Regions from separate parts of the Homo sapiens genome. Here all the other regions are linked to region 1. Evidence: promoter capture Hi-C in 16 types of primary human blood cells and fetal thymus (Javierre and others, 2016). All regions are on one chromosome and are shown on one strand. The core of a region is centred on a gene start or on the middle of the fragment in contact, and the rest is flanking DNA. Distances in the headings are between cores, read along the strand shown.

Evidence for each region. The method cuts DNA at HindIII sites, captures the fragments that hold promoters and counts their contacts. A CHiCAGO score of 5 or more calls a contact.
Region 2: a contact is called between the fragment with the promoter of PRKCZ here and the fragment with the promoter of CALML6 in region 1, in 1 of 17 cell types (endothelial precursors). The highest score is 5.3, in endothelial precursors.
Region 3: a fragment that was not itself captured here is called in contact with the fragment with the promoter of CALML6 in region 1 in 2 of 17 cell types (M1 macrophages and endothelial precursors); the score reaches 6.4 in M1 macrophages.
Region 4: a fragment that was not itself captured here is called in contact with the fragment with the promoter of CALML6 in region 1 in 1 of 17 cell types (endothelial precursors); the score reaches 5.6 in endothelial precursors.

What each region holds. Positions count from the first base shown.
Region 1 is chr1:1,912,490-1,916,964 of GRCh38, forward strand. It overlaps CALML6 (calmodulin like 6), which reads left to right and starts at 2,771. Exons shown (of 6, transcript NM_138705.4): 1 at 2,771-2,818; 2 at 3,196-3,246; 3 at 3,952-4,126; 4 at 4,263-4,407. The coding sequence starts at 2,792. RefSeq lists an enhancer at 1,592-2,278. The HindIII fragment of the contact is 9,795 bases long and covers 1-4,475 here.
Region 2 is chr1:2,047,736-2,051,668 of GRCh38, forward strand. It overlaps PRKCZ (protein kinase C zeta), which reads left to right and starts at 2,676. Exons shown (of 18, transcript NM_002744.6): 1 at 2,676-2,966. The coding sequence starts at 2,896. It overlaps PRKCZ-DT (PRKCZ divergent transcript), which reads right to left and starts at 2,335. Exons shown (of 3, transcript NR_135509.1): 1 at 2,133-2,335; 2 at 1,863-1,931; 3 at 1,466-1,733. RefSeq lists an enhancer at 1-318 and a silencer at 2,254-2,863. The HindIII fragment of the contact is 10,768 bases long and covers 1,550-3,933 here.
Region 3 is chr1:2,114,119-2,118,503 of GRCh38, forward strand. All of the region lies in intron 4 of PRKCZ (protein kinase C zeta), which reads left to right. Among named protein-coding and RNA genes, the nearest start is that of PRKCZ, 66 kb to the left of the region's middle. The HindIII fragment of the contact is 1,063 bases long and covers 2,450-3,512 here.
Region 4 is chr1:2,155,070-2,159,330 of GRCh38, forward strand. It overlaps PRKCZ (protein kinase C zeta), which reads left to right. Exons shown (of 18, transcript NM_002744.6): 10 at 926-1,023. Among named protein-coding and RNA genes, the nearest start is that of PRKCZ-AS1, 27 kb to the right of the region's middle. The HindIII fragment of the contact is 978 bases long and covers 1,355-2,332 here.

The DNA of each region.
Region 1 (4,475 bases), core at 1,521-4,020:
ACCTTCATGCCCGCCCATATTCATTGCAGCAGCAGTTCCAACAGCCAAGAGGTGGGAGCACCTAAGTGTTCATCAGCAGATGGTGGATAAACCGAGTGTGGTCCATCCCGAGAATAACATTTTACTCAGCCTTAAAAAAGACGCCTATTCCAGGCCGAGTGCGGTGGCTCATGCCTGTAATCTCAGCACTTTGTGAGGCCCAGGTGGGCGGATCACAAGGTAAGGAGATCGAGACGATCCTGGCTAACACGGTGAAACCCCGTCTCTAGTAAAAGTATAAAAAATTAGCCGGACTTGGTGGTGGGTGCCTGTAGTCCCAGCTACTCGGGAGGCTGAGGCAAGAGAATTGCTTGACCTGGGAGGCAGAGGTTGCAGTGAGCTGAGATCGCGCCACTGCACTCCAGCCTGGAGATAGAGCGGGACTCTGCCTCAAAAAAAAAAAAAAAAAAAAAGTCGAATTCTTTTTTTTTTTTTTGGAGATGGAGTCTCACTCTGTCACCCGGGCTGGGGTGCAGTGGCGCAATCTCGGCTCACTGCATCCTCCACCTCCCAGGTTCAAGCAATTCTCTGCCTCAGCCTCCTGAGTAGCTGGGATTACAGGCACCTGCCACCACGCCCGGCTAATTTTTTTATTTTTTTATTTTTTTTAGTAGAAACAGGGTGTAACCATCTTGGCCAGGCTGGTCTTGAACTCCTGACCTTGTGATCCACCCACCTCGGCCTCCCAAAGTGCTGGGATTACAGGCGTGAGCCACCACACCCGGCCCCCGGAGTCGAATTCTTAAAAACAGAAAGTAGAATAGTGATTGCCATAGGCTGGGGGGCGGGGGGTGGTGGAAGAGGGCAGATGCTGTTTAATGGGGGCGGGGGTCCGTTTTGCAAGGTGAAAGGTTCTAGAGATCTGCTGCATAACTGGGTACGGCCATGAACACAACTGCACTTGCACCTGAACGTGGCTGAGGCAGCATTCTAATTGTTACAGGGTTTTTCTCTTTTTCTGTTTTCTTTTCTTTTCTTTTTTTTTTTTGAGATGGAGTCTCGCTCTGTTGCCCAGGCTGGAGTGCAGTGGCGCGATCTCGCCTCACTGCAAGGTCTGCCTCCTGGGTTCACGCCATTCTCCTGCCTCAGCCTCCGGAGAAGCTGGGACTACAGGTGTCTACCACCACGCCTGGCTAATTTTTTTGTATTTTTTTTAGTACAGTCGGGGTTTCACTGTGTTAGCCAGGATGGTCTCGATCTCCTGACCTCGTGATCTGCCCGCCTCAGCCTCCCAAAGTGCTGGGATTACAGGCGTGAGCCACCGTGCCCAGCCTCTTTTTCTGTTTTCTTATGGAGAATAGCCCTTCGGTGATCAGAAGAGACACAAGAAGGAAAATAAAGATTGGATGAGTCTCAGGTCCTAGAGATACGGGGTATGTCCGAAGGCCACACAGAGGCTGGTCAGCATGAGGAGAGAGGGTTAGAGGGCGAGGACCTGTTCTGCTGCTTGTACTGGGTCTTGGATATGGGTAGAAGCCTAGATGGAGAGGAGAGAGGTTGATGGTGGTTGTGGCCATGTTGCCCCTTCCTACGGGCGGGGCGGGGGGTGTGCCCTCTGCTTTAAGTTGGGCTCCAGGGGTCACAGCTTTGAGTTTCACTCGTAAGCCCATCAGGATGTCTGGAACCTTCAGGGCTGTGGCCCAGGAATGTCAGACGCTGGAAGCCTGGGAACGGAGGAGGCAGAGCCTGCTGTCCACTGGCTGTGAGAGTTGTTGGGGTGGGGACTTGTCCAGGGCCACGAGGCCAGTGCAGTTCTCTGTGTCTCTGTACCCAGCTGGCCTGTACCTGGAGACCCTGAGCCAGAACCCAGGATGGGCCCTGGCCTGGGTGCTGCGGCTCCCTCCATTCTATGCCCCTGGGGGAAGGTGCTCAGTGCGTGAATTGTTCCCTGCCCCAGCCCAGGGGAAAGCTGAGGCCAGGGAGCAGCCAGGATGAAGGTCAGGGCCTCCCTTGGCCCCACCAGACCCAGGGCCGCTTCCCTCCAGCCCCGGCTCCCGTTTGGCTGGAGGTGCCCTGGGCCATTGGCCTGCCCTCGTCAGCGTCAATCTTGCAGTCTCAGCAGCTGGCCTGGGTTTCAGCGGGAGCCATCCTGTAGCTGCAGGTTTGCTGGCAGGCAGAGGGTTGGGCTGGCGGGGGACACTGAGTGCCCCACCTGCTCAGACTCTTCATGCCATCAAGGGGCCAGTCGGGGGGCAGGTGTGAGTGTGACCCTGAGGGCCCTGACCTGCCACTGCAATCCTCACACTCTTGCCTGGGTGGGGCAGGGAGGAGCTGGACCCTGGCTTTGGGAGTCTGGTGGGTAATTAGACCCAGACAGGGAGGGCTCAGTGCGGGTCTGAGGAGGGAACACACGTGTGCAGGCGTGTGCTCCACGGTGGCATGTTGATACGGACCAGCCTGGGCACCAGGCCCCCTCGGGAGCCAGCTTTGCTGTTCTGAGTGGAAGGGAGATCAGGTTTCCCTGAGAAACCCCAAAATAGCCCCCAACTGTGCCTGGCTTCCAGCGGGCAGCCCAGCCCCCAGGCCCTGTTTTGCTCCCTTTCCCCCTTCACCCCCAGCCCATGTCCTGCTGTCTCCTCCCTGAATGGTGGACCCTCAGCCCCTCCTGTACAAGATGGTCAAGCGGTGCCTCATGCATTTGTTCATTCGACCTGTCCTGAGAGTTTGTGACATGCTGGCACGGGGCCAATGTTGAGTCCACCAGGATGGGAGGGTGGCCAGGCTCTGAGCCACTGAGCACCAGCTGGCCAGGATGGGTCTTCAACAAGAAATCTCACTGGTAAGTGATGACAGCATGGGACCAGGGTCCCATGAAGACCTGCTGGAGGGCCGCACCTCTGGGAAGGTAGACTTGGAGCTTGGTCCAGTGAAGAGGGAACAGCACGGGGAACAGCGTGTGTGAGGGTCCCGCCATGTCTCAGCCCTTTCCTGGCCCCCGCACTTAGCCTTCGGTGCCCATCTTCAGGGTCAGGGGAAGCCCAGGCCAAAGCGGGCCGGGAAGGGGCCCTGTGGATAAGGCCGAGAGCCTGTCCCAAAATAGGGCCGGCAGGATTTCCCACCCATAAAAGGCTCTTGGAATCTGGACCCCGGGGACCCCAGGCAGCCAGGCCCAGCTAAAACTCAGCTGCCACCACTGCCCCAGCACTCTGCCCACAGCAGCCCTGGTGTCACCACCCTGCAGAATCCTGTCAGACAACCACCGACATGGTAAGGCTGCTCTCTGTGCCCGATGGAGTCTCTGGTGGGCTGGCTGGGTAGGTTGAGCTGGAACCTGGAGGTGCAATGACCTGCCACGGAGCCTGGGCAGGAAGGGGCTGAGGTAGAAGAGGGGGCCAAGCCCTGCTGCCACCAACACAGCCCTTGTTCCGGGGCCAGGGTGGAGCAGCCCTTTCTGAAAGCTGGCTCCCAGATGGGCAGCAGCAGTGGTGGCAGGCAGGTGTGGCCCGGTGCTGGACTCTCCCTCCGGAATGCCACACAGGCTGGAGCCCAGGGTTCTGCTTCCTGGGCTGTATCCCAATCCTGGGCTGGAAGCCTTTCCCGGGCCAGGGCTGGGCTCCTCCCCACCCTGCTCTCGGCTTCCTTCACCTGCCTCACCTGGTGTCCATTGCCAGGCTCCAGGGCCGCTGCCTGGCCCGCCTGGCCCTGCAGCTGCTGCTGTTCCCTCGCACGCTGGCTCCTGCCTGTCTGGCCCTTGCCCCTGTTAGCTGCCTGGCAGAGCCCTGCTGGCCCTGCAAACCCCTGGCGTGTGACCCCTTGTCCTGGAAGCCTGCTCTCCGCTGGGGGCCTCCTCTCTTACCACTCACCTTGAAAGGCTGCCAATGGAGGAATGGGTGCAGGGGGTACCTCTGACCCTTCCCTGGACACAGGGGCAGAAGGGGCTCCTGGTCAGGCCGGTGCGGGTGTCCCCTGCAGACAGAGCGCCTGTCGGCTGAGCAGATCAAGGAGTACAAGGGAGTCTTTGAGATGTTCGACGAAGAGGGCAACGGGGAGGTGAAGACGGGGGAGCTGGAGTGGCTCATGAGCCTGCTGGGTATCAACCCCACCAAGAGTGAGCTGGCCTCAATGGCCAAGGATGTGGACAGAGACAGTGAGCTCATGGCTGGAGTGGGGTGGGCAGCCTCGGGGGGGCCCTGGGTCAGGTGTCAGTGCCTACGGGGGGAAGAGGCAAAGCCCATGGGGAGTGCTGTGCCCCATCCCTTGAGCCCCAGCTGTGCCCCTTGCAGACAAAGGGTTCTTCAACTGCGATGGTTTCCTGGCACTAATGGGAGTTTACCATGAGAAGGCCCAGAACCAGGAGAGCGAGCTGAGGGCGGCATTCCGTGTCTTTGACAAAGAGGGCAAGGGCTACATTGACTGGAACACACTCAAGTAGGGCCCGGGTTGGGGGCGGGTGGTGGGCGGGCACGGGCAGGGCCGATGGAGTGGCTCAGCGCCAG
Region 2 (3,933 bases), core at 1,426-3,925, 140 kb after region 1:
AGAGAATAGAGCCCCGCCCCCCACCTTCCCTCGCTGGGACTGGGGCACTGCCACGGCCCTGGGACTGGCTTCCAGGACGGAGGCTCCCGCCTGGCAGCACAGATCTCCCCAGGGAGGCCAGTGCCGAGGGCCTGACCCAGCAGGGGCGTCCTTGGTTAGAAAGGGTCCTCCGGGGCCTTGGGTGGGGCAGGCCCAGGGAGAGATGTCCAGTGACAGGGAAGGACACAACCGAGGGTCCGTCCTGCCTGCTGTGGGCAGTGGTATCAAGGACCGGGCCTTGCTGCCTCCTTGGATCAGAACGCCAGCCAGGAAGTCCTGTGGGTGCCCAGTGGCCCCTTCCAGGCACCGCCCCACTAAGGTGAAACCCTGCTCTTTCCTGCCCATCAGGAAGCGCCCAGGCCATGTTGCCAGGCCAGACTCCAGACAAGGCCACAGCCCTGGCCATGGGGCCTGGAGTGGGGGAGCTGGGCCGACGGGTGCCTGAATCCAGGGCTGCTGCAGGTGCAGGTTCCCACTCATCACTGTACCCTGCCAGGCTGCCCCCTCACCCTCTACTCTCTGCCCCCCTTCATGCCCAGCTGATGGGCATGGGGCTTTGTGCCTGTGCGAGGGATAGAGGGGGTTGCCCCATGGAGATGGGGGTGAGGAGTAGATTGCTGAAATGGGCATTAGGTATGCTAGAGACTTCAAGGAAGTGTGGGTGCCAGTCCAGCAGATCTCTGCAGGCAGGTGCTCCTGGAAGAGGGAGTGGCTGTGCAAAGAGGGAGTGGCCGTGCAAAGACGGAGGCCGGGGCAGCAAAGAGGCCTCGAGGCCGGGGCAGAGGAGCTGGCCTTCCCTCCAGGAGTGATGGGAACCACTGGGGGGACTTCGATGACCCAGAAAGATGGAGTGGGGGAAGACGTCAGCTGAGAGGCTCATTAGGAGGATGCCTGGGGCTGGGTGAGTGTTGGTTGGGAGCTCAGGGGGCCCATCTGAGCTGGGGATGCAAAGCGGGCCAAAGGCTGAGGCTGGGGCTCCACAGTTTTAAAAGCTGCAGACCAGGAGGGCGAGGGATGGGAGATTTAGGGAGCTGGAACCCGGGGCCAGGGATGTGTGAGCCTTCCCAGGAGGGGTCTGATACCAAAGGCCAAGTTAAGAAAATGTCTGAGGCCGGGCACAGTGGCTCACGCCTGTAATCCCAGCACTTTGGGAAGCCAAGGCAGGTGGATCACCTGAGGTCAGGAGTTCGAGACCAGCCTGGCCAATATGGAAAAACCCCGTCTCTACTAAAAATACAAAAATCAGCTGGGCATGGTGGTGGACACCTGTAATCCCAGCTACTTGGGAGACTGAGGCAGGAGAATGGTTTGAACCCAGGAGGCAGAAGTTGCAGTGAGCCGACATCATGCCATTGCACTCAGCCTGGGCAGCAAGAGCGAAACTCCATCTCAAAAAAAAGAAAAAGAAAGAAAAAAAGAGAAAACGTCTGAGAACCGACGGCTTGTATTTAAAACGTGTGAGTGGGTGGTGGCAGGAGAGGTAGACAGGGAGCAGGGCCGGCTTGGCGGAAGCTTTGCTGTAGAGAGGGGCAGAGATGGCTCGGTGGGTGGAGGGAGGGGCAAACGGTGTTTAAGAAGAAAAAACGACAGCTTCTGCGTAGGAGAGGGGCCTCCTGTCCATCTCCAGGGAGAACATGGGTTCTGTGGCCACAGGTCTCCCCAGGGCCTGGCATCAAGGAGGCGCCAGGCACGACCTGCGGGATGAAAGCACGTGGCTGAAGTCCTGGTGGCTGTGTCTGGGTGAGGGGTGTGAGGGCGTGGCCTGAGCAGGTCCACTCTCAGGGGAGAGGGGCCGAGGCCAGGAACTGGGTCTGGGTGTCCACCTGGTGCCTGGGTGAGGTCCTGCAGGCAGCAGGTCTGGGCTTCAGTGGATGCAGCCAGTAAGGGATGGGCTGATCAGGGAAAACCGTATTTTCAGGGGAGGAGCCCAGGAGGCAGGGAGCTGGGCGGCGGTGGAGGGGCCTGGAGGGCGATTGTCCAGATCAAGCCCCTCGAGTAAGGCCCGAGAGGCTGTGGCTTCAGAAATGAAGGTCATGGGCGACTCGGGCCAATGCCGCGTCCTTGACCTGGGCGAAGTGAGCGGTTGCACTCACGAGTGTGGACGGCCCTTCCCTACAGGGGACCTTGGATTCGCTGGGGGCGGAGTGGGGGCTGGGGCCCAGAGAACCCGAGTCCGGACGCTCCCGTCCGTGACCCTGGCCGGGTTCTCCGCTCCTCGCAGCTTCAGTCCGCAAGTGTGAGATGTCAGGGGACCCCTGGACGGCGGGGCCCTCGGGCTGGCAGCGCGCGCCGCAGGAGTTTCGATTCGGAGGGTCTGGGCGAAGGCCGAGAACTCGCGTTTCCAGCGAGTTCCCGGGGGCGCCGCTCCGTCCCAGAGGCCGGGGCCCCTCCGGTTGCCGGGCAGAGCCGCGCCGCGCGCGGTCCCATTGGCGCAGGTGCGCCGCGCCCCGCCCAACAGGTAGCCCCGCCCGACAGGTAGCCCCGCCCGCGCCTCGCCATTGGGCCGCGGCCGGGTGTCCCCCGAGGATTGGCCCAGGTGGCGGCCCCGCCTCGCCCTCATTGGCCGCAGGTGCCACCGCCCGCCCCGGGACCGCCCGCCCCGCGGATTGGCCGCTGGCTCCACCTCGGTCCGCCATGTTCGGACACCGCCCCCCGCCCCCGCCGGACGGTCCCGCCCCGCGCGCCCCCCGCTCCCGCCCCGCGCGCCGCCGGAGTTCCGCGGAGTTGACCGGGTCGGCGCCGTCGGTCCTGAGCGCTGCCTTCCGCGTTCCGCCGCGGCCCCACCTGGAGCCCCCGCCCCGCGCCATGGCCGGAGCTCCCGGGGCGCAGCGCTGACGGCGGCGGGGGGAGCGCGCCATGCCCAGCAGGACCGGCCCCAAGATGGAAGGGAGCGGCGGCCGCGTCCGCCTCAAGGCGCATTACGGGGGGTGAGCGGCGGAGAGGGCGGGGAGCGGCGCGGGTGAGGCAGGGAGGGCGGGGAGGGCTCAGCCGTCGGGGCTCCTGCGCGAGAGGGAGAGAGGGAAGGGGCGGCGAGGTCGCTGCGGGCCCGGGGCTGTCGCGGGAGGTCCTCGGTCCCCGCCCGTGAGCGTCACCCGCGGACACGTCGTGGACAGCGCGGGCTCCTTCCCCGGGACCGGGTTTCCCTGGGGTCGGCCCCGCGCCGCGAGCTCCTCGGCCCGGTCATTGTGGTAGACGTTTTCGCTGGAAAGTTGGGCGGGGACGTTCCGGCCGCAAACCTGTAAGGACTGAAAGTTTTCATCAAGTTGTGAAAACTCCTGGCGGGTTTCTTAAAATCAGCGTTTCCTAAACGTTCTCCACGTTTACCCGGTCGGGGGTCTCGCTTTAGCCAAAATCCGGAGACCCGGGGCGCGGGCGCTGTGGCTCCAATGCAGCCCCCGGCAGGGCTCGGGGCGGTCGGGCGGGGACAGGGGTTTCTGGAGGAGACGGTGGGGCCGAGACTGACCCTGGGGTTTGCGTCGCACCCGCCCCCCGGAGGCCCTTGCCTGGCTGTGGGAGGGGGCGCGGTCAGGTGCTGGAGCGGAGGGGTCCTGGACTCTTGGCCGCCGCCTCGGGGCAGCGCTGCTGGGGGTGGCGGGGGCTGCACCAGGTGGCCGGGCTCACAGGCACAGCGGAGGGGTCGCTGCCCCCCGAAGTGTGGGCGGTGGGGAGGGGAGGACCCGTGGGTTTGTTCTTCCACCTGTGCGCGTCTCCAGGAGCCCCGAACTGGGACCTCCGCTCCCGCGAGGGTGGCTGCTGCTGCAGAGAGGGAGGGGAGCAGAATGCGGGCTCCGGACTTGCACTGGCTGGTCCTTGGGATCTCGAAAAGCTGCTCCTGCCCCGGTGCGTCCTCAGCTACAGCGTGGGCAACCTGAGCCCCAGAGGCAGGGACGGCCG
Region 3 (4,385 bases), core at 1,731-4,230, 200 kb after region 1:
AGAGGGCTGCACCCCCCCACCCTCCCACCCCAGCTTTTCTCCAGGAGGACGCTCCGTCGTGGCCTGGGAGGACGTGGAAGGAGGGACCCCGGATGCAGGGCAGGTTCGTCTTGTGTGTTGAGAACGTGCTCTCCAGGGATCTGTGTTAATACAGGTAGCCCAAGCACAGTGTCCAATGAGGGAAGGAACATTTGAAACAGAAGAGATGACTTATTTTGTTGGACAAAAAAGGAATATGGTGGACATTAATTCTTAGAAGAGGTTTTATTTGAAACAAGTCACAAAAATAATCAAACAGCAGGTTGACTTTGGAGTTCAGCTCACAAAAGTTAAGCTTACAGAGCAAATAAAATAAGCTGAAGAAAAAGATAAGATGACTGGGCGCAGTGGCTCACGCCTGTAATCCCAGCACTTTGGGAGGCCGAGGCGGGTAGATCACGAGGTCAGGAGTTTGAGACCATCCTGGCTAACACGGTGAAATCCAGTCTCTACTAAAAATACAAAAATTAGCCGAGTGTGGTGGTGGACACCTGTAGTCCCAGCTGCTCGGGAGGCTGAGGCAGGAGAATCGCTTGAACCCGGGAGGTGGAGGTGGCAGTGGGCCGAGATCGTGCCACTGCACTCCAGCCTGGTGACAGAGCGAGACTCCGTCTCAAAAAAAAAAGAAAAAGAAAAAGAAAAAGCTAAGATGCAGCAGGTGGAGCCGCCTGCCGTTGGGTTTCAGCTTTTCTTATGGAAAGAATGTTACGGCCTGGGTGCCTCCATTCTCTGATTTCTTTTTCTTTCTTGACTTTTTAAAATTGAAACAAAACTCCCTAAAACATGAAATCTGAAGCGTTCAACTCCACGAGTTTTTACAAAGCAAACTGCACCGCGTCACATAGCTGATCCGTGTGTAGCTTGTCCTCTGGACGCGGGGCCACCCCCACACCCCGAGGTGACCCCAGGCGTAACCTACCCGTCCCCGGCCTTGGTGCCTGCAGATAGTTTTGCTTGTTTCGAGCTTTTGTCTTGGGATCCGGGGCCATCCACCCTGGGTGTGGCCGCTCAGTCGGGCCCCTGTGTGGGGCTTTCCCGTGGTGTGGGGTGCGGTTCTGCCGTGTCCGTCCCCACTGCGGGGCTGCTCTGCTGGCTGAATTCTCCACGTCTTATGTATCCACCCTCATCTTGCGAGGCACCGGGGTCCCGGCTTTTGGCCACAGACATCCGAGCGCCTTCTGTTGCCCGTGGCGCATCTTTCATGTGGGCACACCCAGGAGTGGAGTTTCCGGGAAACAGACGTTTCCCTCGCGTGGCCGCACCAGGTCGCACTCTGCACTGTGTTTCTGCCTCCAGTTATGTGGGGTTTTCTGCACCCACAGCCACTCTGGCGCCAGCTGGGTGTCCTGTGTTTCCATTCAGCTCTGACATCAATTACCTGACGTTAGCGCAGACCCTGCAGATGAAGGGCTCATTCCCACAAGCCTGCCCCTACTTGAGAGCCAGCTGCAAGTGCCAGGTGACAACCTGGATTCTGACCAACTGGCTGTGAATCGGGGGTGTCCGTGACCCCTTCCTGAGGCTCGGGTGGGCTAGAATAGCTCCCGGAACTCAGGAAAACACTTTGCTTAGTGTACCCGTTTATTAGAAAGGACAGCCACACGGAGGAGCTGCACGGGAGGCTGAGGTATGGGGGGTGCAGAGCTTCCGTGCCCTCTCCAGGCACGCCACCCTCCAGCACCTTGGTATATTCACCAACTCGGACACTCTCCAGACCATGTCATTGAGGGCTTTTTGTGGAGGCTTCGTGACAGGCACGGTTGATTCAACAGCCAGCCACTGCTGATTACCTCAGTCTCTCCTGTCTCCTCTCTGGACCGTGGGCTGTGGGACGGAAAGTTCCAACCCGCTAGGCATTCCTTGGTCCTGCTGAAGACCAGCCGCATCCTGGAGCTGTCCCGGCTCCCGGCTCCCCGTCATCTCATTAGCATGCAAAAAGACACTCTTACCGCACTCCAGGATTCCTAGGGTCAGAGGGGCTGCGCGCTGGGAAACTGAGACAAAGGCTGAATCTGTGTTGATGGCACAGTCACTCTGGGTCGTGTGGGAATTCCCGATGCACCTCCTTCCAGCACATGGACTGTCAGAGCCCTGCGTTGTCGCCAGCACAGCAGATCTGAAAGGCACTAGGCTGTGGCCTCGCGACGGCTGAGGTGAGCTGCTTCTCCGAGGCTCCCGGGTTATTGGGGACCCTCCTTTTAAAGGTGCCTGTTCCAGTCTTTTGCCCCATTTCAAAATTGGGCTGTCAAAGAACAATGTCATTGGGGGGTCCGTCTTTTTTGTTGGTTCCTGGGGGCTGTGTGTGTTTTAGAGACAAGTGCTTTGATTTTTTGTGTTGCAAACAGCTTCTGTCACTCCGCGGCTCGCCTTCCACTCCATGGATGGTGTCTTCTGATGAACAGAAAGTAAAAGCTTACTTTATAATTAGGGCTTTTGCGTCCTGGCTGTGTGTGGGGCCTCTTTCTGGACTGATCTGTCCCCTTTGTTTTTTGCCCCCATGTCGTACTGTTCTGATTTCTTCTGCTTTATAATCACCATTGGTAACTTGTGTTATGAGTCTCCAATTTGGGGTTTTTAGTTTTCAAGGTTATCTTGGTTATTGGCTTTTTACATTTCCATACACATGGGCTTGTTAATAAGCCATTTACAGTTGGCTTATTTGCTTTCAAAATCTCCATAAGACATTTGGATTGCATTTGGATTTCTTGATCAGTATGGGAGATTAGCATCTTTACAATACTGAGGTTTCCAATCCGTGAACATATCTTTAGGCCTTTGATTGGGGTTTTTTTGGCAGGGGAGTTGCGGGGGGCAGACAGGACCTCACTCTTGCCCAGGCTGGAGTGCAGTGGCATGATCATGGCTCACTGCAGCCTTGACCTCCTGGGCTCAAGCAATCCTCCCACCTCAGCCTCCCAAGTAGCTGGGACTACAGGTGTGCACCACCATGCCCAGCTATTTTGGCATTTTTTTGTAGAGACAGGGTCTCCCTATGTTGCCCAGGCTGGTCTTGAACTCCTGGGCTCAAGTGGTCCTTCTGCCTCAGCCTCCTAAGGTGCTGGGATTACAGATGCAAGCCACTGCACCCGGCCTTAAATTCTTTCAATAATATTTTGTAGTCTTGTGTGTAGCGGTCATCCACATTTTTTGTTCAAATGATTCCCTGGTATTTCAGTGCTTATGCTGTTTTAAGCCGTATTACTTTTACAGTTTTTTTTTTTTTATCTTTTTGTTTATAGCAATGTGTAAAGAAGTGTGATTAACTCATTTGTCTTGGCCTCTCCTGGTCCCCGTAGTTTGTCTGTGGTTGCTCCGGAACCTCTCTGTGCGCTGCCATTTTGTCAGTGACCGGCTGTTTGTTTCTGCCTTTCCTTCAGATGTTGCCTTGTTACCCTGGCACTGTTGATCCTTCCAAAACAGTATGGGACAGAAGTGGTGACAGCCACATCCTCTCGTGCCTGATTTCAGGGAAAAGCTTTAAGAATTCCACCATTAAGGGTGCTGTTTGCGGAAATACTGTTTTTCCTTCGTAAATCCCCACCAACAAATTAAAGAGGTTCTATTTTATTCCTAGTTGAAAGTTGTTAATATGAATGGTGCTGAATTTTTTCAGATGCTTTTTTTCCTTCATCTATTGATGTGACAGAACTTTTCTCCTTTATTCTGTTCATACGATGAATTCTATGGATTGGCTCTTAATGGTAGACCGATGGCATTCCTGTAGTGTGCCTCGTTTGGTTGTGATGAGTTCGCCTTTTTATATTTTGCTTGATTCAGTTTGCTATTATTTTGTTTGTTGTTTTTGCAACTGTATTTATGAGAGAGATTAGCCTATTATTTCTTTTTTTTTTTTTTTTGGAGTCTCACTCTGTCACCCAGGCTGGAGTGGAGTTCAGTGGCCCGATCTGGGCGCACTGCAACCTCCGCCTCCCTGGTTCAAGCGATTCTCCTGCCTGAGCCTCCTGAGTAGTTGGGATTACAGGTGTGTGCCACCACGCCTGGTTAATTTTTGTATTTTTAGTAGAGACAGGGTTTCACCATGTTGGCCAAGCTGGTCTTGAACCCCTGACCTTAGGTGATCCGCCCGCCTTGGCCTCCCAAAGTGCTGGGATTACAGGTGTGAGCCACCATGCCTGGCCATATCTTCCTTTTGATTGATGCTTTTATCATCATGAAATGTTTTTGTTTTTTTTTTTTTGAGACAGAGTGTCGCTCTGTCCCCCAGGCTGGAGTGCAGTGGCACCATCTCCACTCACTGCAAGCTCTGCCTCCTGGGTTCACGCCATTCTCCTGCCTCAGCCTCCTGAGTAGCTGGGACTACAGGTGCCTGCCACCGCGCCTAGCTA
Region 4 (4,261 bases), core at 594-3,093, 240 kb after region 1:
AGCTGGTAGCTTTGGTGATCGTGGTGAAGATGATGGTGATGATGATGGTGACAATGATGGTGACGATGATGGTGATGATGGTGATGATGGTGAGGTAGTGGTGATGACGTGGTGGTGGTGATGAAGATGTTGATGATGGCGGTGATGATGGTGATGGCGATGACTGTGATGGTGGTGGTAGTGATGACATTGAGGATGACGGTGGTGGTGATGATGATGGTAGTGGTGATGACAATGGTGGTGATGACAGTGATGATGGTAGTGGTGATGACAATGGTGGTGATGACGGTGATGATGGTGATGACAGTGGTGATGATGGAGATGGTGATGACGGTGATGATGGCAGTGGTGATGACAGTGACGGTTGTGATGGTGATGATGGTGGTGGTGATGGTGATGATGACGGTGGTGATGAAGGTGATGGTAACAGCGACAGTGATGGTGGTGGGGGTAGATGGTGCCAATGGTGATGGTGGTGGTGGTGATGGTGATGACAGTGATGATGCAGATGGTGATGACGGTGGTGGTGATGATGACAGTGACGGTGATGATGACAGTGGTGGTGAAGGTGATGGTGACAGCAACAATGATGGTGGTGGGTGGAGGTGGGAGGGATGGTGACAATGATGACGGTAATGGTGACAGTGACGATGATAGTGGGGGGTGGGGGTAGGGTGTATGGTGACAGTGGTGTGACGGTGGTGATGATGACAGTGACAATGATGATGATGGTGGTGGTGGTGGTAGAGGTGGGGTGGATGGTGACAATGGTGGTAATGCAGTTCCTAATGGGTGTTTTCTTTTCCTGTCTGCATTGTCTTCCTGAAAGCGGAGGAAAGAGACTCCTCCCTTGCCTCCCCCTTGCCCAGGATGCCTGTGAGGAGCATTCGGGAGCCTCATTACCACTCCCTGGTTTCTATTTCAGGATATTGACTGGGTACAGACAGAGAAGCACGTGTTTGAGCAGGCATCCAGCAACCCCTTCCTGGTCGGATTACACTCCTGCTTCCAGACGACAAGTCGGTAAGAAAAAGAAGGGTATTTCTGATATTCTGCAGATTTCAGATGTGAACTGCACAGAAGCTAAGTCTGGTGTGATGTGTCAACTGTCACCTGTAAGGTTCTCCCAGTTGCTGTACGGGTGTTTTCAGGCCAGCAGACTCTCTTTGTTGTTCTCCTTGGTTGGTGTCATATTAAGTACATTTCATGATCTGAAGTTATTTAATTCCATTTACGAAATACTTACTGGAGGTATCCCACTGAGTGCAGGCATTGGGTCAGGTGCTGGGGCTACAAAAGTAAGCAAAAGAGGTGGATTTCTGTGCTTATTAAAATATGTACAGCTTCACCTTCAAGCTTTATATATACTGGAATTCTGTGGCTTTGAATACATTTGAAAGCTGATGATCTAGGATATTAAATGTATGCCCTGTTTAAAATTTTGGGGGCCAGTTGACTTTGACCTACCTGATTTGTTTATTTGAAGAGTTATTAAGTATGTTCTGCATTGAGTCCTCAAGACCATCCCCAGGTTCGATGATTGGCTAGGAGGACTGCTGGGATCAATCATGGCCGCACTGGGGGCCACAGCTGGCATACTGCACTGGGGAGATAAAGGAGACTTGGCCAAGGAAAAAGGCACATGGGGAAAATTCCAGAAGAAACCAGTCACAAGCTCCCAAGAGCCCTCTCCCAGTTCCTCCAGCAATGAATTGTGACAACTCATGGTTTTTGTCAAGGGCTGGTCATGCAGGCTGCACACGAACCAAAATTCCAGACTCCCAGTGGAGAGCAGGTGTTCAGCATTGCGTTAGTCAGGGTTCTCCTGAGAAACAGAACCAGTTGTGTGCACGTGTGTGTGTGTGTGTAAAGAGATTTATTATAAGATACTGGTTCATGGGATTATGGAGGCTGAGAAATCCTATAATCCGCCATCTGCAGGCTGGAGGCCCAGGAGAGCCAGTGGCACAGCTTGAAGGCCTGAGAGCCAGGAGCTGATGGGGTCGCTTCCAGTCCGGGTCTGAAGGCCTCAGAGCTAGGAGCAAGGGGGCCAGAAGGTGGATAGCTCGGTAGTCAGGGAAACGCAGCCTTCCTCCTCCTTCTTGTTCTCTTCACGTCCCCAGGGGCCTGGATGATGCCAGTCTACTTCAGGGAGGGCCGTCTGCTTACTCTTCCAGAAGCCCCCTCAACAGGCATGCCCGGAAGTCATGTACAGCCAGCTACTAGGGCGTCCCGTGCCCAGTCAAGGTGACCGTTGAATTCACCATCACGAGCATAAGGCATCCTGTTCAGGCACACACAGTTTGGGCACAGCAAGCAGCTCTTATTCCAAAGCTTTTTTTTTTTAATGTGCTTTTCTTGTTTTTGAGATGGAGTCTCGCTCTATCACCCAGGCTGGAGTGCAGTGGCAACATCTTGGCTCACTGCAGTCACCACCTCCTGGGTTCAAGCAATTCTCCTGCCTCAGCCTCCTGAGTAGCTGGGATTACAAGCACCTGCCACCACACCTGGCTAATTTTTGTATTTTTAGTACTCTGTGTTGGCCAGGCGGGTCTCGAACTCCTGACCTCAAGCCATCTGCCCTCTGCAGCCTCCCAAAGTGTTGGGATTACAGGCATGAGTGACTGAGCCCCGCCTCCAGAGTTTTTTTTTTTTTTTTTTTAAATAAAGATAGGGTCTTGCTCTGTCGCCCCAGGCTGGTCTCAAACTCCTGGGCTCCTGCCTCAGCCTCCCAAAGTGCTGGGATTACAGGTGTCCACCACTCTGCCTGGCGGTCATGCAGAAGCATGTTATATCCGTGTAGGGAACTGTTTGCAGTTCACGTTCCCAGCCCCAGCTCCGGGCCAGCTTTGCGGGCCAGGCTTCCTAAGCACAGCGGTCCTAGGCCCTGGGTGCAACCCTCTGCTGCTCGGTTCTTAGCTGTACATCTGGCGACTTGCTCTCCTCCGCTGCACTCTTGGCTCTCCTGACCGCAGGGTCCTGCTCTTGCCTGTGCTTGGCAGCCACCTCTGTCTGTCGGAAGAGCCGGCGTGACCCGGCCGTTCCCCGACCTGCTCTACGTGCGGTGCCGTCCTGGTCAAGGGTTCCTGTTTTCTGGCTGCTTACGCCTCCTAAGTGTGTTTCAGGGTCCCCCACCCTCCCCACCTGACCCCAGGGCTCCCCAGTGTTGGCTTCCCCATGTTGGGCCTGAGCCATATTTGAGAAACACAGATCTGAAGTCTTTTTCCTGCCTCAAAGCTCCTCTGATTCCTCCTCCCCAGTTGCTTCTGGGGTAAATTCCAAGCTTCCTGTGCGTGTGGACGAGGCTTGTGGTGACCAGGCCCCAGTGCCCCATCGTGTGCTTCAGCGTGGCGCCCTCGCCCGCACCGCCTGCGCCTGACGGCTCTGTCCCCTTTCCTTCTGCTCCCCTGCTTCCCGGAGTGAGTCAATGCCTCCCTTTGTGCATTCCCATTGCGCTTTTCCAGGCCTCTTTCCGCCCTGACTGCCATCCCTTGCGATTTGGGAATACGCCCAGGGGAAGGCAGCCCGGCCCCCCACACTTCCTAAATGGTGAGGTTCCAAGAAGGGTTTTGTTTTGCTTTGGTTCTTCTTCATATGTGAACTTGTAGGGATGTAGATGTATAAGGGGTCCGATATCCCACCCTCACTTCCCCTGAGTGGCCCAAAGCTCAGCCCCTTCTGCACTTGTGTCTTTGGACTCTTCTGTCAAGTCACAAGTTCCCAGATGCGTAAACCTGAACTTAAAGAATTGTCGTCTGTGGGGTGTCTGTGGGATCCCCGCAGCGGCACCAATCACTGTCCTGTGGGAGCATTCGGCATTCACAGTTGGGAATAATTCCTATGCATGTCTGATTTTTTTGCCTTTTTTTTTTTTGAGACGGAGTCTTGCTCTGTCACCCAGGCTGGAGTGCAGTGGCACGATCTCGGCTCACTGCAACTTCCACCTCCCTGGTTCACGCCATTCTCCTGCCTCAGCCTCCTGAGTAGCTGGGACTACAGGCGCCTGCCACTACACCTGGCTAATTTTTTGTATTTTTAGTAGAAACGGGGTGAGCTCCGGGTTGGGGGGAGGACCGGCAGCTGCCTTAGTCCAATAGCTGGGGGGCTGTGAAAACTGCCCACAAATTCTTACTGACCACACAGCACCAGACACCCACGTGAAGCAAAGCCAACATCGGCAAGGCGGCCACGCGTCCGGGTGGCGGAAAAGTCTGGCCTGGCCCAGGTGGGTGTGCTCGGCTGTGCCGCCTCTGCTCCCTGG